2 separate regions of the Homo sapiens genome follow, and region 1 is linked to region 2. The links are contacts of gene promoters, found by promoter capture Hi-C in human tissues and cell types (Jung and others, 2019). All regions are on one chromosome and are shown on one strand. The core of a region is centred on a gene start or on the middle of the fragment in contact, and the rest is flanking DNA. Distances in the headings are between cores, read along the strand shown. Region 1 overlaps NLRP5 (NLR family pyrin domain containing 5). Region 2 holds the start of NLRP8 (NLR family pyrin domain containing 8).

Evidence for each region. Contacts are between HindIII fragments. The study calls those that stand out against the background at their distance.
Region 1: a contact is called between a fragment that was not itself captured here and the fragment with the promoter of NLRP8 in region 2, in 4 of the 25 tissues and cell types used here (pancreas, psoas muscle, spleen and 1 more).

Annotation. Positions count from the first base shown.
Region 1 is chr19:56,016,755-56,021,146 of GRCh38, reverse strand. It overlaps NLRP5 (NLR family pyrin domain containing 5), which reads right to left. Exons shown (of 15, transcript NM_001433705.1): 5 at 1,749-1,805; 6 at 716-772. Among named protein-coding and RNA genes, the nearest start is that of NLRP5, 32 kb to the right of the region's middle. The HindIII fragment of the contact is 3,128 bases long and covers 897-4,024 here.
Region 2 is chr19:55,944,775-55,949,447 of GRCh38, reverse strand. NLRP8 (NLR family pyrin domain containing 8) reads right to left here and starts at 1,616. Exons shown (of 10, transcript NM_001433706.1): 1 at 1,179-1,616. The coding sequence starts at 1,545. The HindIII fragment of the contact is 14,722 bases long and covers 1-4,673 here.

The DNA of each region.
Region 1 (4,392 bases), core at 1,211-3,710, 71 kb before region 2:
TGTAATCCCAGCACTTTGGGAGGCTAAGGTGGGCAGATCACGAGATCAGGAGTGCGAGACCGACCTGGCCAATATGGTGAAACCCCATCTCTACTAAAAATACAAAAATTAGTCGGGCATGGTGGCAGGCCTGTAATCCCAGCTACTCGGGAGGCTGAGACAGAAGAATCGCTTGAACCTGGGAGGCAGAGGTTGCACTGAGCCGAGATACCGCCACTGCACTACAGCTTGGGCGACACAGCGAGACTCCTTCTCAAAAAAAAAAAAAAAAATGCCACGAAGGCAAGACATGTTTTTCTTACCACTGTAATTCCAGCACAATTCTTCAATGGCAGGTATTCATGTACATATTAGTTGATAGAAGGAATTACAAAAATAATTACTACCACTTAAGTTTGAAGACAGCATTTGACTACTCTTGGCCATATGTTTAACATCCATCAAACAAAGTTGTGATTGATTCGAGTCCCCTAGAATTATGGGTTCTTTAGAATTTTGTCTTCATAGTATCTGACTGTAGATAATCACAGTGAACTTGCGTAGCTCTATCCATGGTACTGATCAAGAGCTTGAAGGGAAGGGGTTGACACCAGAGACAAATGAGATTGAAGAAAGGCAATCTAAACTACATACCCTTGAAATCTAAACTACTTACACTTCTTTCACCCAACTTTCTTCCAGGAGGGCAACCAAGGAATACATCTATTTTCCTCACCTTGTTCTTCTGTCTCTGCTGCTGTGGCACCTTCTTGTTCCATAGCTTGTGAAATTTCTGCAAAAGAATGAATTCCAACATACTTGTGTTTATTATTCGAGTCAGAGATGTCAGACACCCCCAAGATAAGCTTAGTCATGCCATATTTATTTTCTGGCCAGTTGAAAACATGACAACCACCGGCTCAACTAGAAGACAGAGTGCACTGGTACAATGAGCACTAATTCAAAGCTTGAGGGTGAGGGTCCTAGGCTCATTTCTCCTTGAAGAGACTTGCACAAGTTATTAAAATGAGGGGTAGGTCGGGCGTGGTGGCTCATGCCTGTAATCCCAGCACTTTGGGAGGCCGAGGTGGGCAGCCGAGGTCACGAGTTCGAGACCAGCTTGGCCAATATGGTGAAACCCCATCTCTACTAAAAATACAAAAATTAGTCGGGCACAGTGGCAGGTGCCTGTAATCCCAGCTACTCGGGAGGCTGAGACAGAAGAATCGCTTGAACCTGGGAGGCAGAGGTTGCACTGAGCTGAGATCCCGCCACTGCACTACAGCTTGGGCGACACAGCGAGACTCCTTCTCAAAAAAAAAAAAATGCCATGAAGGCAAGACATGTTTTTCTTACCACTGTAATTCCAGCACAATTCTTCAATGGCAGGTATTCATGTACATATTAGTTGATAGAAGGAATTACAAAAATAATTACTGCCACTTAAGTTTGAAGACAGCATTTGACTACTCTTGGCCATATGTTTAACATCCATCAAACAAAGTTGTGATTGATTCGAGTCCCCTAGAATTATGGGTTCTTTAGAATTTTGTCTTCATAGTATCTGACTGTAGATAATCACAGTGAACTTGCGTAGCTCTATCCATGGTACTGATCAAGAGCTTGAAGGGAAGGGGTTGACACCAGAGACAAATGAGAATGAAGAAAGGCAATCTAAACTACATACCCTTGAAATCTAAACTACTTACACTTCTTTCACCCAACTTTCTTCCAGGAGGGCAACCAAGGAATACATCTATTTTCCTCACCTTGTTCTTCTGTCTCTGCTGCTGTGGCACCTTCTTGTTCCATAGCTTGTGAAATTTCTGCAAAAGAAGAATGAATTCCAACATACTTGTGTTTATTATTTGAGTCAGAGATGTCAGACACCCCCAAGATAAGCTTAGTCATGCCATATTTATTTTCTGGCCAGTTGAAAACATGGCAACCACTGTCTCAGCTAGAAGACAGAGTGCACTGGTACAATGAGCACTAATTCAAAGCTTGAGGGTGAGGGTCCCAGGCTCATTTCTCCTTGAAGAGCCTTGCACAAGTTATTAAAATGAAGGGTAGGTTGGGCGTGGTCGTTCGCACCTGTAATCCCAGCACTTTGGGAGGCCGAGGCGGGCAGATCACCAGAGGTCAGGGGTTCGAGGCCAGCCTGACCAATATGATGAAACCCCATCTCTACTAAAAAATACAAAAAGTTAGCCAGGGATGGTGGCACGTGCCTGTAATCCCAGCTACTCAGGAGGCTGAAGCAGGAGAGTAACTTGAACTTTGGAGGCAGAGGTTGCAGTAAGCTGAGATCATGCCACTGCACTCCAAAAATAATAATAAGAATACAAAAATTAAATGAGGGGCAAAACCTACAGTTAAGAATTAAGGATCTTAGGATCTTAGAGCCAGATTTTGTGGTACATGCCTGTAGTCCCAGCTACTTGGGAGGCTGAGGCAGGAGAATCACTTGAGTCCAGCAGTTTGAGGCTGTAGTGAGCTACGGTCATGCTTGTGGATAGCCACTGCATTGTAGTCTCAGCAATACAGCAAAACTCTCTCTCTTAAAAAAAGAATTGGATTTGAATTAGACACAGGATTCAAATGTGAGTTGTCATAAACTATTTGTAAGATCTTCATCAAGTTACTGAAGTTAAATGTTTCTGTATGCTCATCTAGAAAAGCAAAGAAATTGTTCTTATGTTGTCGAGTTGCTGTGGAGATGATTTGGTAGAGTAATAACACAGCCTCTGGCATATAGTAGCTACCACTGACTGAGAATAACCACTATATATATTTATCAGGAAATAGTTACCATGTGAGGCTAAATACAAATTCGTCTTAGGATATATGAGAATAGATTTGCCATTTTAAAGAACAATCATTAGGGTGGTCTTTGTCTTGTCAATTAGAGAAAAATTATAGATTTTTTAAAATCACAAACAGAATAAAAACCACTTAAGGATTTTTAAGCATGGGAATCAAGTTACAGGCGTAAATTTTTAGATCGCCTTGGTTATTGTATGAAAAATTGATTGTATGTAAAAGTGGATTGCGTTTGGGACGCAAATGAAATGCCTTCAATAACCCATTGTGTATATACACCACAGAAATACAGAAGATGGGAAGAACTGTGTAAAAATGGGTCATATATTACGGGTAGAGACCATATGATCTTCTGATTTGCTAGATATATGGTGGAGAAAATAAATATTAAAAAATACAGCTACTAAGGAAGTCAAGGCACAAGAACTGCTTAAACCTGGGACGTGGAGGTTGCAGTGAGCCAAGATTGCGCGACCGCACTCCATCCTGGGAGACAGAGTGAGACAAACAAACGAGCAAAAAACGACTAAGCTTTTGGTGTAAACGACCAGGCACATAGTGACGCTATTTACCGATATGGAAAACAGTGAAGGCAGATATCAAACCAACGCTCCACCCAACAGCAGAAAACATGCCCTTCTCAACTGCAAACAGACCTTCTTCAAGATAGATACATCAGGCATAAAACATGCTTCAAGTTTATGTTCCTTGAAATTATACAAAGTATGCTCTCTTAACACAATGAAATAAGATTAGAAATCAGTCAGAAAATTTGAAAATTTCCAAATATATGGAAGTGAAGCCACACGATCCTCAACAGGTCAAAGGGGAAACAAAAGGGAATTAAATACTTTGAAATGAGTGGAAACAAAACACAGCAATATTTACAGCGTGTAGGTAGAGCCGTGCATAAAGGAAAATTTATAGCCATAAATGCCTAAGAAAGATCTGAAATATAATATAACTTCCCACCTTAAAGTAGGAAAGAACCCCCTTTTGGGGTTAGTGAGTAGCAAACTCACCCCAAAACAGGCAGAGAAAGGGAATAAAGAAATAAACAAAATACAAGATGGAAATACCATAGAGAAAACAAACCTACCAGTTTGTTCTTTGAAAAGAACAAAATTGACAGACCTTTAGCCAGACTGACCAAGGAAAAAAAGAGACAGCTAAAATTACTGGAGTCGGGAATGAAAGAGGGTCACAACTAACAGCCTTAAAGAAATGAAAAGGATTTTGGCCGGGCGCGGTGGCTCACGTCTGTAATCCCAGCACTTTGGGAGGCCGAGGCGGGCGGATCACGAGGTCAAGAGACTGAGACCATCCTGCCTAACACGGTGAAACCCCATCTGCACTAAAAATACAAAAATTAGCTGGGCATGGTGGCGCATGCCTGTAATCCCAGCTACTTGGGAGGCTGAGGCAGGAGAATCACTTGAACCCAGGAGGCGGAGCTTGCAGTGAGCTGAGATCGCGCCACTGCACCCCAGCCTGGGCAACAGAGCAAGACTCCCTTAAAAAAATGTGGTGTATATACACAATGGGTTATTCAGCTCTAAAACATACAGGAAATTCTGTCATTTGCTACAA
Region 2 (4,673 bases), core at 367-2,866:
TGGCCAACATGGTGAAACCCCGTTTCTACTAAAAATACAAAAATTAGCTGGGTGTGGTGGTGCGCACCTGTAATCCCAGCTACTGGGGAGGCTGAGGCATGAGAATTGCTTGAACCTGGGAGGTGGAGGTTGCAGTGAGCTGAGATCACACCACTGCACTCCAGCCTGTGTGACAGAATGAAGACTCCATCTCAAAATAGAAAAAAAATACATACCGATCTATGATAAAAGTTTAAATTATAAATTAGGTACAGTAAGAGATTAACAATAATAATGAAATAGAACAATTATAATACTATACTATCATAAACGGTATGTAAATGTGGTCTCTCTCTGTCTCAGAATATCTCAGTGTACTGTACTCATCTATTTTTGGCCATGATCAACCCAAACTTCAGAAAGCAAAACCTTGGATAAGGGGATGACTGTAGTCCAGCTCTGCTTTATTCATATTGAAGATGAGGTTTTGGATTACAATATCCTCCAGTGGGATTCACCCTTTGTTGCTGCGAAATGGCCTTTTAAAGTGTTTAACCTTCTTGCTTTAAATATAGCACTCCTGACATCACCATAGCTATACCAGCTGTCTTCTGCTGTTTCCATAGCATATGCTTTTCCACTATTTTACTTCCTACTTCTCTATGACTTCATTTAACGTTCACCTCATATAAGCAGTATTCAGTTAAGTTTTTAAAAAATAGGCCCATATGGGCTGGGCACAGTGGCTCACACCTGCAATCCCAGCACTTTGGGGGGCCAAGGCAGGCGGATTACCTGAGGTCAGTAGTTCGAGACCAGCCTGGCCAACATGGTGAAACCCCGTCTCTACTAAAAATAAAAAAAAATTACCCAGGCATGGTGGTGGGTGCCTGTAATCCCAGCTACTCAGGAGGCTGAGGCAGGAGAATCACCTGTACCTGGGAGGCGGGGTTTGCAGTGAGCCGAGATTGTGCCATTGCACTTCAGCCTGGGCAAGAAGAGCGAAACCCCATCTCAGAAAAATAAAATTAAAAAAATGCCCGTATGACAGTCTTTGCCTTTGGGTTAGATCCATTATCTTCCTCCACTGTTTGCTTTCTTGCTCAGAAGGCCAATAAGTGATAGGGGTGGTGACTAGAGTAGTTTAGCTGCCCAGCAGCCAAGCCCACCCCCACTTTATCCACCAGATCAACACTCACCATTTATCTCTCTGCGGACTACAACACACATTTTATCACAGTTCATAATGGCAAAGATGTTCGAAGTCACATCCCAAGCGCGTCGTCCAGGGAAACGCTCTATCAAGAGATGAACCACCTCTGCCCAGCTGGCTGTCTCGACCTGGTCCCAGGTGATGGGCATGGTGCCAGTACTGAGCTCAGTCAGTAAGAGCTGCTTGAACCGTTGTAGCTCCTCATGGCTCACGTTTCTCATGTACAGCATGACCCCATTTTCACATGGGGAGCCGGGGTAGCAAGAGAATGTCCAGGGCGGAATATGAGAACTGTGAGTGGAGGAGGATGAAAAGGGAATGGGGGTGTCAGAGGGTGGATTCACGTCACTCATCTTTAGTCAAGGCAGAGAACACCTCAGTGTCCACGATAAAGACAACCGATTGGAAGAGAGAAACACGAGACCTGCAGAGACATAAAACAATAAAACAAGAAGATGAAAACACTACCCAAGAAAACAGATTCGTGTAATGCTTACTTGGCAGGTATTCTGCGTGCCGGGTACTCCCTTTACCTCCTTTCCTCAAAGATTCTCTGCCCTATGGAAAAACTGAAGATGCATGGAATGTTTGGGATTAGTCCATTAGACTAATGGATTGTTTGTAGTTTCTATTCTCCATGACTTCTTTTGGGGAAGAGGCAAGCAAAATATCAAAGCCTTCACAAAAGGTTTAGCGAAAAGAAAAATTAGAAGCAGGTAAAATAATTCAGTGAAGCTAAAATCTAGAAAATATATGGTTGGTTAGAAGGCTCCATTAGATTAAAAGTGATCTCAAATTCAACAAAGTTTTTATTCTTAAAAAAATGGATCATGTATTAGAGAGATGCAAATCAAAACCACAACGAGATGTCATCTCACACCAGTCAGAATGGTGATTATTAAAAAGTCAAGCAATAACAGATGCTGTATTCTTAAAAAATGGATCATGTATTAGAGAGATGCAAATCAAAACCACAACGAGATGTCATCTCACACCAGTCAGAATGGTGATTATTAAAAAGTCAAGCAATAACAGATGCTGGTGAAGTCGCAGAGAAAAAGGAACACTTATACTCTGTGTGTGGGAGTGTAAATTAGTTCAACTACTCTGGATGACAGTGGGGCAACTCCTCAAAGACCTAAAAAGAGAACTACCATTCAACTCAGCAATCCCATTACTGGATATATATCCAAAGGAATATAAATCATTCTATTATAAAGACACATTCCTGTGTATGTTCATTGCAGCACTACTCACAATAGCAAAGTCATGGAATCAACCTAAATGCCCATCAGTGATAGACCGGATAAAAAAATGTGGTACATAAACACCATGGAATACTATGCAGCCATAAAAAAGAATGAGATCATGACCTTTGCAGGAACATAGATGGAGCCAGAGACCATTATTCCTTAGCAAACTAACACAGGAACAGGAAACCAAATACCACATGTGCTCATTTATAAGTGGTAGCTAAACGATGAGAACACATGGACACATAGAGGGAACACCACACACTGGAGTCTGCTAGAGGCTGGAGGGTGGGAGGAGGGAGAAGATCAGGAAAAATAACTAATGGGTACTGGGATTAATACCTGGGTGATGAGATAACCTGTACAACAAACCCACCCCCATAACACGTTTGCCTATATAACAAACCTGCACATGTACCCCTGTATCTAAAAGAAATGTAAAAAAGAAATAAAATAAAAAGGATCATGGGTGTATTTTTGTCCCCCCTGCCCCAACTTCCAATAATAGTTTATTTATTTATTATTTATTTATTTACTTAGAGACAGAGTCTCACTCTGTTTCCCAGGCTGGAGTGCAGTGGTGTGATCTCGGCTCACTGCAACCTCCACTTCCCTGGTTCAAGCAATTCCCTTGCCTCAGCCCCCTGAGTAGCTGGGATTACAGGCACCTGCCACCATGCCTGGCTAATTTTTTTGTATTTTTAGTATAGATGGGGTTTCACTATGTTGGCCAGGCTGGTCTCAAACTCCTGACCTCAAGTGATCCACCCACCTCAGCCTCCCAAAGTGCTGGGATTACAGGTGTGAGCCACTGCACCTGGCCAATAGCTTCTTCTTTAACACTTCTCCCTCTTATAACTTATGTGACACCCAAACATCTGGATAAACTTGTTTAATTGACTCAGTCCTCCCTTGGGTCCAGAGTAGCTGGGCTTGGTCCCAGGACAAAGGTGATATGCTCCTGGGTGGCTGACTCTTGCTAGTGCTCCTTCCGTCCAGTGGGTGGCGCTGCATGGAGGAGCCTAACACAGTCACACATTTTCTACCTCTACTTATTCCATGACCATTGCTGACCACGTTCCAGCCACAGTGAGCTGCAGCTTTAAGAAATTTGCAGGACTGGCTGGGTGCGGTGGCTCACGCCTGTAATCCCAGCACTTTGGGAGGCCAAGACAGGTGGATCACTTCAGGCCAGGAGTTCCAGACCAGCCTGGCCAACATGGTGAAACCCTGCCTCTATTAAAAACACAAAAAGTAGCTGGGCGTGGTGGTGGGTGCCTGTAATCCCAGCTACTCGGGAGGCTGAGGCAGGAGAATTGCTTGAACCCAGGAGGCAGAGGTTGCAATGAGTGGATATCATGCCACTGCACTCCAGCCAGGGTGATAGAGCAAGACCCTGTCTCAAAAAAAAAAAAAAAAAAAAAAAAAAGAAAAGAAAGAAAGAAAGGAAAAGAAAAGAAATTTGCAGGGCAAGGGAGGATGTTGGCAGTTACATCATCGTTTTGCTTTACTTTCATTCACTGCTGAAGGGAACATAAGCAGGGGGAACCTATCTGAAAGGCCTTTTCACAATACTACCAATCGTGTGCACTGCCATGGAATTCAGTAGTTCTACTCCTAAAACTGCAACCTGAGGCCAGGTGTGGTGGCTCATGCCTGTAATTTCAGCACTTTGGGAGGCTGAGGTGGGAGGATCACGAGGTCAAGAGATTGAGACCATCCTGGCCAACATGGTGAAAACCCGTCTCTACTTAAAAAAAAAAAAAAAAAAAACAAATATTGGCTGGGCGTGGTGGCATGCACCTGTAGTCCCAGCTACTTGGGAAGCTGAGGCAGGAGAATCACTTGAAACCAAGAGGGGGAGTTTGCAGTGAGTGAGCCAAGATCCCGCCACTGCACTCCAGCCTGGGCAACAGAGCGAGACTCCATCTCAAAAAAAACAAAAACAAAAAAGGCCAGGCGTGGTGGCTCACGCATGTAATCTCAGCAATTTGGGAGGCTGAGGTGGGCAGATCACAAGATCAGGAGATTGAGACCATCCTGGCTAACACGGTGAAACCCCGTCTCTACTAAAAATACAAAAACTTAGCCGGGCATGGTGGCAGATGCCTGTGGTCCCAGCTGCTTGGGAGGCTGAGGCAGGAGAATGGCATGAGCCTGGGAGGCAGAGCTTGCAGTGAGCCAAGATTGCGCCACTGCACTCCAGCCTGGGCGACAGAGTGAGACTC